3 separate regions of the Homo sapiens genome follow, and regions 2 and 3 are each linked to region 1. The links are contacts of gene promoters, found by promoter capture Hi-C in human tissues and cell types (Jung and others, 2019). All regions are on one chromosome and are shown on one strand. Each heading gives the region's core, a stretch centred on a gene start or on the middle of the fragment in contact. The rest is flanking DNA. Distances are from core to core; before and after follow the strand shown.

Evidence for each region. The method cuts DNA at HindIII sites, captures the fragments that hold promoters and counts their contacts. A contact is called where the count stands out against the background at its distance.
Region 2: a contact is called between a fragment that was not itself captured here and the fragment with the promoter of COMMD2 in region 1, in 1 of the 25 tissues and cell types used here (hippocampus).
Region 3: a contact is called between a fragment that was not itself captured here and the fragment with the promoter of COMMD2 in region 1, in 1 of the 25 tissues and cell types used here (bladder).

Annotation. Positions count from the first base shown.
Region 1 is chr3:149,751,239-149,754,378 of GRCh38, forward strand. COMMD2 (COMM domain containing 2) reads right to left here and starts at 1,251. Exons shown (of 5, transcript NM_016094.4): 1 at 1,140-1,251; 2 at 972-1,049; 3 at 165-247. The coding sequence starts at 1,206. RefSeq lists a silencer at 1,407-1,476. The HindIII fragment of the contact is 2,909 bases long and covers 1-2,554 here.
Region 2 is chr3:149,896,906-149,900,183 of GRCh38, forward strand. The region is part of intron 5 of RNF13 (ring finger protein 13); the gene reads left to right. Among named protein-coding and RNA genes, the nearest start is that of PFN2, 72 kb to the right of the region's middle. The HindIII fragment of the contact is 3,542 bases long and covers 54-3,278 here.
Region 3 is chr3:149,588,716-149,591,993 of GRCh38, forward strand. All of the region lies in intron 2 of WWTR1 (WW domain containing transcription regulator 1), which reads right to left. Among named protein-coding and RNA genes, the nearest start is that of WWTR1-IT1, 62 kb to the right of the region's middle. The HindIII fragment of the contact is 4,755 bases long and covers 1-3,278 here.

The DNA.
Region 1 (3,140 bases), core at 1-2,500:
AGATGATATGATTTTTATTTTTTAGGTATGTCTTCAAAAAATCAATTATAAACCATTAACAACATTATTAAAACACACAGGTACCTGCCAGGACTATGATGTAGAGTACACCAGACCGTTCTTAAGAATCCAGCCAACACAAAACAGTCCAGAAAATCCCTTACCATGAGCTTTGAGCTCTCAGTGAGGAGATACGTTAATCCTTCCACACCATGCTGGACAGTGTCACTACTCACATTGAGTTTTCCTGAGAAAGAAAAGTAAAAACGAGCAAATAAATTACTACTGTAGTATTTATCTTGTTCATATTTGTATTTAAAAATAAACACTATTCATTATTACATGTTTTCAAACACTGCATGAAAAACAGTAAGTTGGCCAGAGGCTCCTGCTCCTTGTCATTCCACTCCCAGCCAAATGCCTTTGGTATTTCCCACCAAGTAACCTTAACAAAATGCAGAACTGTGGAGACTAGTATCAGGTGCGTAGCCCTTCTCTTGAATACGTAGCTCCTTCAAGTCTGGCAGAAGAGGAACTCGACAGGGATTGACTTAATCCCAGAGACTGCCTCTTACCCAGGGGTAAAACAACACTTTTTTTTTTTTTTTTAGCAAAAGCGGATATCTGAACAACTAATAATGATAACCAAATACTTGCAATTTACAGTTGACCCAGCTATTCCACAGACTTTGGTATATTTATACAAAACACTTTTCAGTATTTCTGAAAGTAAGGTGGTATTATGTACATTTTACCATGAGAAAACTGATTTAATAGAAGCTTTAACAATCTCACAGCTACTTAAGGGACGGGCAGGATTTGCACCCTGACTGAAGAGCTCTGCTGGTTTTATTCTACTACAATCGGAACAAGACCCTAGGACTCGCAATAATCCGTTTCTCTCCCGGGAGACAGGGAATGGCTCGCAACCGCCCTAGAAGCCTGCGGAGCCTTCCCCTTTCCCTTCTTACTGGCGGCGCCTTCGTAGATTTTTGGGTTTGCGCCGCGTCTCAGGAATTCCACAGCAATCCGCCCAAACTCGGCGACCACTGCAATGAAAGTCAGAAGGCTGTTGAGTGCCAGGCGCTGCCTTTGACCTCCTCCCCAGCCCACAGAACACCGCCCCCACGCCCGCTGACCCGCGCTGTCCACTTGAGGCAGGAAGGCCAGGTGTTCCTTATGCTCCTCGGACAATTCCAGCAGCATCTTCACTGTCCTACGATTTCACCCGGCAGCGCCGACCCCGCCTTCGCCACTTCCGGCGCCCGTGTCCCGGCGCCTAGAGGCTCCGGCGTCGCAGCGTCCGGAGCTTTGGGTTCCGGCCTACGAACTAACGCGTTACACTCGGACGTTCCCTGCAGCGCAGGCTGAGGTCAGAACATTGAAATCATCCCGCAAAGATGCAGTGAGCGCCTGCTGGGTGCAAGGTGCTAGGCTCTATGGGAGATGAAAAGGTGTTTCAAATCCGACACGCCCCCTCGTGGAGCATACATTAATAATATCAATAGTTCACATTTGTTAAGCACTAACCGTGTCAGGAAGTGTTCTTACATTTATTAAATACATTTGGAGTTCAGAAGAACCCTATGAGGTAGGTTCCATTATAATTTCCATTAGAGATAAGGAAACTGATAGACAAGTCCAGCAACTGACACTTTTATAAAGCTAATAGTTTCCAGAGCTTCTATGTTATCTTAAATGTATCTCAGTTAATATCCTCAACAAACATGGCTTTGTTTTTACAGATAAGACACAAAGCTCCAGAGATTATGTGACAAAGCCTGTGACAGAGTTAGATGGAGAGGGTTGGATCCCTCACTTACCTGCTGCAAAGCCCATCCTTCTACATAACAGCCTGAAAGCTGAAAGCTTCTGACAAGTTTTATGAGTGATTATAAATTAGGATAAAGATAATGATGACAATGACCGATGCTTACAGGATTCAGAGCAATGTTTTTGTTTGTTTGTTTTGTTTTGTTTTGTTTTTTACATGGAGTCTCGCTCTGTCGCCCGGCTCACTGCAACCTCTGCCTCCCGGGTTCAAGCGATTCTCCTGCCTCAGCCTCCCGAGTAGCTGGTATTACAAGCGCCCACCACCATGCCTGGCTAATGTTTGTATTTTTAGTAGAGACGGGTTTTCACCATGTTGGCCAGGCTGGTCTTGAACTCCTGACCTCAAGTCATCCAGCCAACTTGGCCTCCCAAAGTGCTGGGATTACAAGCATGAACCACCACACCTGGCCCAGAGCAATGCCTTTTAAAAAGTATTTAGCGCCTGTGATAATTTAGTTCCTTTTCCAACTCTCTTCTCACCTGCTGTGGTTCAAATATCAGAGATGATAAAGTTGCTAATTGATAGGAATATGATTCTTCAAATCTTAACCCCTTGAAAATGGAGGGTGTGGAGGAAGAGAGGGGAAGGGAAGAAGACTCTTCATATCTGTCTTTTCTATCTAAGGCTTGAGACAACTCTATATTCTGAGTCTCCCAGGCAGACTAAAAATTGGAAGAGTTTTTCAATTCACTTCTCTGTGTCTACTTTGTCCTTCACATCTGACTGAAATTGTTTCTTCCACTGGGACACAGAAAGACAGGTCCTTGAACTTATTAGTTAGTTCTTGAAGTAGCATTTGCAGAGAGAACACAACTTTTACTTAGACTGTGAATTGCAGATTAGCAAAAATTGCATCATTTCCTGAAGTTGCCTTTATTCACACATTATTGAGAAAACATCCATTATTAAAGAATAATTTTCAGAAAAGGTAAAATCATGATTCTTCTACAAGTGTACAATGAACACATGTCAAAAAATGTATTGAACTAGTTAATTAATGAGAGAATTACAGCATTCTGTAATTAATGAGAGATTACAGTAAAAACCAGTTTCAACTGATTCAAAAGAGGTATTCAAGAACTGTACATATATAGGGAGTAGGAATGCTGAAATGAATTTGCAAATAGACACAATATTATGCCAATATGAAATGGCCTTTCTTGTCTGTAATCTCAGGGAATGAAGTGAGGACAGGCGAGGTGAAGGTGAGACTAGGGAGTAGCACAATAGGCTGTCTAAAAAAGGTGGTCAAGGAACCAAGTTAGGCCAGGTATGGTGGCTGATGCCTGTAAACCCAGCACTTTGG
Region 2 (3,278 bases), core at 575-3,074, 150 kb after region 1:
CTTCATGACTGTAGAATCCATTAAGTACCCATAAGAAGTTTTAGCATTTCAGGAATAGTTTGACAGCTACTACATGGGAATTACAGGACTTACTTAAGTGAGTTTACTTATCAAATAAACTGGTAATGTTAGTACTGCCAATTTGACACATTTTACTTCTCCTTTAACTATTTCCCTCTTAAAAAAAATTATCCCAGTTGATACATCCCATGGTCAGTAACTTTTGTGATCTGTATACATTTACTGGCAAAATGGAAAGCATGCGTAGTCTGGAAATGGATAGGCCTGAATTCGAAATCAAATCCTACTTGTATCAGTTGTATAACTTTGAGCAAGTTACTTACTCTTTGTGTGTTTTGCTAAAGGCCCAAGCCCAGGATTTAGCAAACCTTCAGGACCTTCTCAAGGGCTGAATATGTTTTGGATTGAACAAATTGATTATTATTTGTAAACTATTTACTCTTTTGACATGTTTTCAGTAAAAATTTTGCAGGCTGAAATTGTCAGTTCCCTTTATCACTTATTTTTTCTTTGTAATACTGTAAAACCTTTTTGTGATAATCATGTCAGCTCCTAAAGAAAATATGTTCAATATTAAAAGTAGCACACAACCATATAAGCCTGCTGTTGCCATGGAAATGTTTCAACTGAGTTGTTGTTCAAAGACTGCTCAGAATTTTGGTTCTTGACTTTGTTGCTTAGATTATTTTCTATGATATTTTGCTCCATCTTTGCGCATGTGTTTAAACGTTTTATATGTACAGAGACAAATGTTGTAAAGATCTTTACCATTTTCATGTTTGCTATTACTTGGTAGAGGTAAGAAAAGCATAGATTTATCAGAAGAGGCTTGTATCTGTCCCTCTTTTCAAGGCCTTTCCTAGGAATACTGGTATCTTATACCAAGCAGAGATACTAACGCCTGGAAACAAAAGGAAGTTGTAAAAGCCCCTTCCTGTTGACACTTCACGTAAGGAATATACCAATTTTTATTTCAGCCAGGAACAGAATGGATTAATTCAGTGAGCCAATAACATTCTTTATCTTTAGGAGACAGCAGAAAGTGGTAGGAAGGACACCAACTTCAGAACCAGGAAATATGTGTTTATTCTAAGCCAGGCTAGTTGTTATGTGAACCAGATACCTGCGCCCTCAGGAAAGTTACTTAATCTTTATAAGCACATTATTTTCATCTATAATAGTGTGAATAATTTTGATAATTATTTGACCTGACAAATTTGTGAAAACCTTATGAGAGAAGGTATATGAGAAAACCCATGCAATGGCAGAGTGAGAGGAGCCTAGATGAGGAGTCAGAAGCCTCCAGTTTGAGTCCAGACTGTGCAAATATCTAACTGTATAACCAGGTCAAGTTGTTAATATCTCTGGGTCATTTTTTTTTTCCTTTTTTTCTTTGATTTCTTTCTTCAACAAATGCATTTTGACAGCCTACCCTGCACTGTTTTAGGCACTGTGACTATAGGAAGTAATGATGCAGTCAGAGGCTCTGCCTTCATATCTTTCATTGAGGTAGTAGAGTGCAGTACTTAAGAGAGTACTTTCCGGGTACTGCTTGTTAGGGTTTGAATCCCAGCTTTACCACCTAGTAGCTGTATGACCTTGGGTATATTACCTAATATCTATATGCTTCAGTTTTTCTGATCTGTGAAATTAGGATAATAATAGTACCTAAGTTATTTAGTTGCGATGAAGATTGAATGAATTAAGGCCTGTTAAGTGTCTAGAGGACTTCCTGGTTCTTAGCAATCATTTAATGATTGTTCAGATATTATTATTGTGATTATTATCATTTTATTGCATTCTAGAGTAGGAGAGAAGAAATGAACACATAATCAAATAGATGTGCTATAATGTCAAGTAGTGATAAATGCTATGAAGAAAAATATCAGCATAAGGGGATATAGAATGACAGAGATGAAAGGAAGGCAGCTATTTTAGATAGGGTGGTCAGAGAAAGCTTCTGTGAGGCATTGCAATTTGAGCACCGATCTAAAGTTAGAGGCTGAGTCATGCAGATTTCTGAAGGAGGGTATTCCAAGGAGACGGAACAACAAGTACAACAATTCAAAGATAAAGCATGCTTGGTGTTTCCAAAGTGTGGCATAAAGCCACAATGGCTAGAGTAGTGAACAAGGGAGGGAGTGGGGGGATAAGGTTAGAGAAGGAGCCAGGGGTCAAATATGATGGGCCTTGTCAGCCATGATAAGGACTTTGGAATTTATTCTAAATAAGTTTTAGGCTGGGCACAGTGGCTCAGGCCTGTAATCCTAGCACTTTGGGAGGCCAAGGCGGGAGGATTGCCTGAGCTTAGGAGTTCAAGACCAACCTTGGCAACATTGTGAAACCCCATCTCTACTAAATATATAAAAAATTAGCCAGGTGTGGTGGCGTGCATGCCTGTAGTCCCAGCTACTCAAGAGGCTGAACCACAAGAATCACTTGAACCTGGGAGGCGGAGGGTGCAGTGAGCCGAGATCGTGCCACTGCACTCCAGCCTGGGCAACAGAGCAAGACTCCGTCTCCAAATGATTGAATGAATGAATGAATGAATAAATAAAAAAAAATAAGTTTTAAACAGCTGTGTAAGGCAATATGACATATTTCATAAACGGAGCACTTTGCTGTTCTTTGGAGAGAACACTGAAGGTGAAAGGTGAGCAAAAGTGCCAACAGAGAGAACATTTAGAAAGCTGCTGCAGCAGCCAGGCAAGAGTAATGGTGGTTTGGAGTATTAGTAGTTAAAGTCATGAGAAGTGGTAGGAATATGGCTATATTTTGAAGCTGACAGGATTTGGTATAGGGAGTAAGGGAAAGGGAGGAGTCAAGGATGATTCCAAGATGTTTAGTCTGAGAAACTAAGTGAATGGCTATGCTGTTTACAGAGATGAGAAACAGAGTTGATCGACTGAGAGAAAAGAGACATTCAGAGTTCAGTTGAGAAACTTTGTTTGAAACATGTATTAGGCAATCAAATGGAGATATTGAATGGACAATTGGATATACGAATCTGGAGAGTTTGGGGCTGGATCATTCAAATTGTAATCTATCTTTGTCGATATGTACTTCACAGAGTTGTTTTACAGATCAAAATAGAGTGTTTTAAAAGTATTTTGTGAAGTAAAACATATTTAGTTTTGTTTTCAGTAGATAATGTTGCCATTTTCAAGATGGCTACTCATATTTGCTTACAATATTTTCTCCCTTTTTCTTAATCATTTTATTAAAGTAAGGAGCTTTCTACATCTCTTTAGATGTCA
Region 3 (3,278 bases), core at 406-2,905, 160 kb before region 1:
ATGAGAAAGCTATCCTCCCCCCAAAATGAACCCATTTCCTGCTTAAAAAATGATGCTGCATTCCACATTTGAACCTATACCTGCTCATTACAGCCTCTGAAAATAATTCCACAGCTATAGTGCAGGACTGAAAATCTTGTCTCTGCCTTAACTGTGAGTTGGAAAAGGCGCCACCATAATACTCCCATGAGTGCTTAGCCTAAAGGTGCTCTGAACTAGAGAGAGGCACAAAAGGGGGAAAAATGCAATAGAAGGAAGGGATAAAGAGGATCAAGGGAAGTTCTATAATTAAGCAATATTTTACGGCTGCCTCTGGCAGCTGTTTGAGTGAGCGGGAGAATCTAAACGAGGTGTCAACAGACACAGGAGCTGCCCTCTCCTTGGGCAGATCCAGCAGGGCCTAGCATGTCCTGTACTTCACAGGACAATCTGGGGCATCTTATATCCAGCACCTGTCAGCCTGGGAGACTCCCAGCTGCAATACTGTTATTGCTGTCATCTGCCTAATCCAGAAGGGAGCGGCATTTATTGTATCTAGAAAGAAAGATTAGGCTAAAATATATTTGACTGTTCTTATGAAAGAGAATGCATGCCTCACGTAACTGTGTTTGTTTTCTTCTTGTCCCTCCTGACTTTTTCTGTTTTTATCAAAGGAAGAAACCTACTCTTGCAGCTGTATTTTTCATTTTTAACCCCCACGTTAATCATATATTCACAACAAATAATGGTTTAAATTTAGTCTGACGACCAGCCACAAGGCTCCTTCTCATCCCACTATGAGGCACATCCTGCCTTCAGACTCTTTACGCAATCCTCATTGACTTGGAGAGGAACCCCGTGCAATGAGTTAAACAGGATATAGACCATCATAATTACCAGAGGAAATGGTATTTTCTTTACAGGATACATTTAGATTTTTCCTTTCCATGAGTTTTTTTTTTTTTTAATGGTGTTAAAATGAAAGGAGACTTTAAAGCAGCTTTCAACTTCTCAGTAGCCCCAACTATGGACTAAATGCAGAAGGCCTTACACACAGCAGACATTAAAAAACTACTCATAGAATAAGTGACTGAATTAAAGGAATGAATGAATGAATGAATGAACATATTTAATGGGTTTACTTCGACAAATCATTTTGCTTCTAGGTATCAAATATAACAGTTGAATCTTATTCACATCATATATGTTTTTATCTGTAAGTACTCATAAAACTAATCTAGGAAGATTTGTTCCTTACTTGCCCCAGAAAGGAACAAATTCTAGAGAATGCTGTCACATTCTATTAAACAAATTAAGTCATTCTCAATTCATTCCTGTTGATTCTGCAAACTGCTCGGCTGAGCCTCTACCAGGTACTATACACCATGGGTCCTGAAAGTCCACCATATCTAGCATACAATAGACACTAAATAATAAATGTATGTTGAATGAATTGCTACTTATATTCCTAATAATGACAATCATGGTAATAATGATAGTTACAATAATAATTATTCATATTAATTATTAGTCATAATATTCACAATAACCATGCTGTTAATGTCTGATAATAATAGTTGACATTTATATACCATTTTATGGCTTCAAAAATGATCTTAACTTGATCATTACATAACAGGCTTACTAATCTCTGTTTTTAAGAAATAAAAATGGGCCGGGTGCGGTGGCTTACACCTGTAATCCCAGCACTTTGGGAGGCCGAGGCAGGCGGGTCACCTGAGGTCAGGAGTTTCAGACAAGCCTGGCCAACGTGGTGAAACCCCATCTCTACTAAAAATACAAAAATTCACCAGGCATGGTGGCGGGTGTAATCCCAGCTACTCGAGAGGCTGAGGCAGGAGAATCGCTTGAACCCGGGAGGTGGAGGTTGCAGCGAGCCGAGATCATGCCATTGCACTCCAGCCTGGGTGACAAGAGGGAGACTCCGTCTCAAAAAAAAGATACAGAAACAGAGTTGGGTGAAGTAAACCTACTTAATAAGTTCTTAGTTTCCATGTGGCAGAGCAGAGTCAAATCTTGTTCTCATAATAAGGTCTAGGGCTTTTTCCATGATACAATACTGCCTTGTGAACCCAAAGAGGCTGACGTGCATAACTTGGGCCATTAGGAAGGAAGGAAAAGGGGAGGTGGACCGTCAGCACTGCTGATAGCCTGACTTTGTCCTGGAACAATATCTCCTGCAGGCTTGGTCCTCCTCTTGCTTCAATAACACACCACCATCCCTCCTTGTCCCTCCTGAAACCCTTGAGTCACACAGTATGTCAACTTGCCTGCAAAACTTAGCTTTTTTTTTTTTTTTAACACCCTGGTTTTAATTAGGCATATCCTGTCAAGAAAAGGGACTCTTGTGACAATAAAACAAATTAGGTCCATGTGATCCTGTAGTTGTTAGGGAGAAAGGAAAGAAAGAAATACAAATACTACTTAAAAAAACATAAATACAAAGCGGAACGCCAACTCTCCACTATGACCTAAAAGGAAGAGGTAAAAGGACTCTGAAGATAGATTTGGAGATGCAAGGCAACAGCTGAATATGCCATGAGCAATGCTGGAACCCTAAGCCAGAGCTGGGGATGTGATTCTTAAGGCCCTGCCACTTGGAAAGCCAAAACCTGTTCCTTCAGAAGCCAGTCTCTGATAGTAACTTTAGCCTAACTTGCCTTCCATTTTTATTAATGCTTTTAATATCATATTGCCTTTAGTTTTTATTAATGTTTTCATTATTTTAATAACTAGGGAAAATATTCAAATAGGGCTGTTGTATAAAATGTGTTCAGTCTATAATAAGCTATGTAACCAGCCTTTATAATTGACTATATAACTGTAATTACTTAACTAAAATTCAAGATGTACATTCACTTTTCCTAAATTTTCTCTAAACAAAAAAAAGTAGTAGAGATAAATTCCAATTTTTCTAAGAAATTACCTTTTCATGATAATATCTTATGTTTTAAAACATTTACACAAAAAACATTTTTGCAATGTATTCTGAAATTAAAAATAGTTATATTAGAAGAAACATTTCATTCTGGGTTAGGAATTGTAGTCATTTTAAATGACTTGAGAAAAAAGTTCATGTTTAAATACTCAGACCCGTAATAAATATATTAATACAAAAGTGCGGGAAAATGTACAAATGTTATCATATGTTGCCAAATGTGAGAAACATTGCGGGAGGGGGTAGGAGAAAGAATTAGTGAATACAAAGTCATTGTGAATTCAGCAAAGGGAGAGACACTTCTGATTCTGCCAACTGCATCTGGTATTTCCACCTAAAA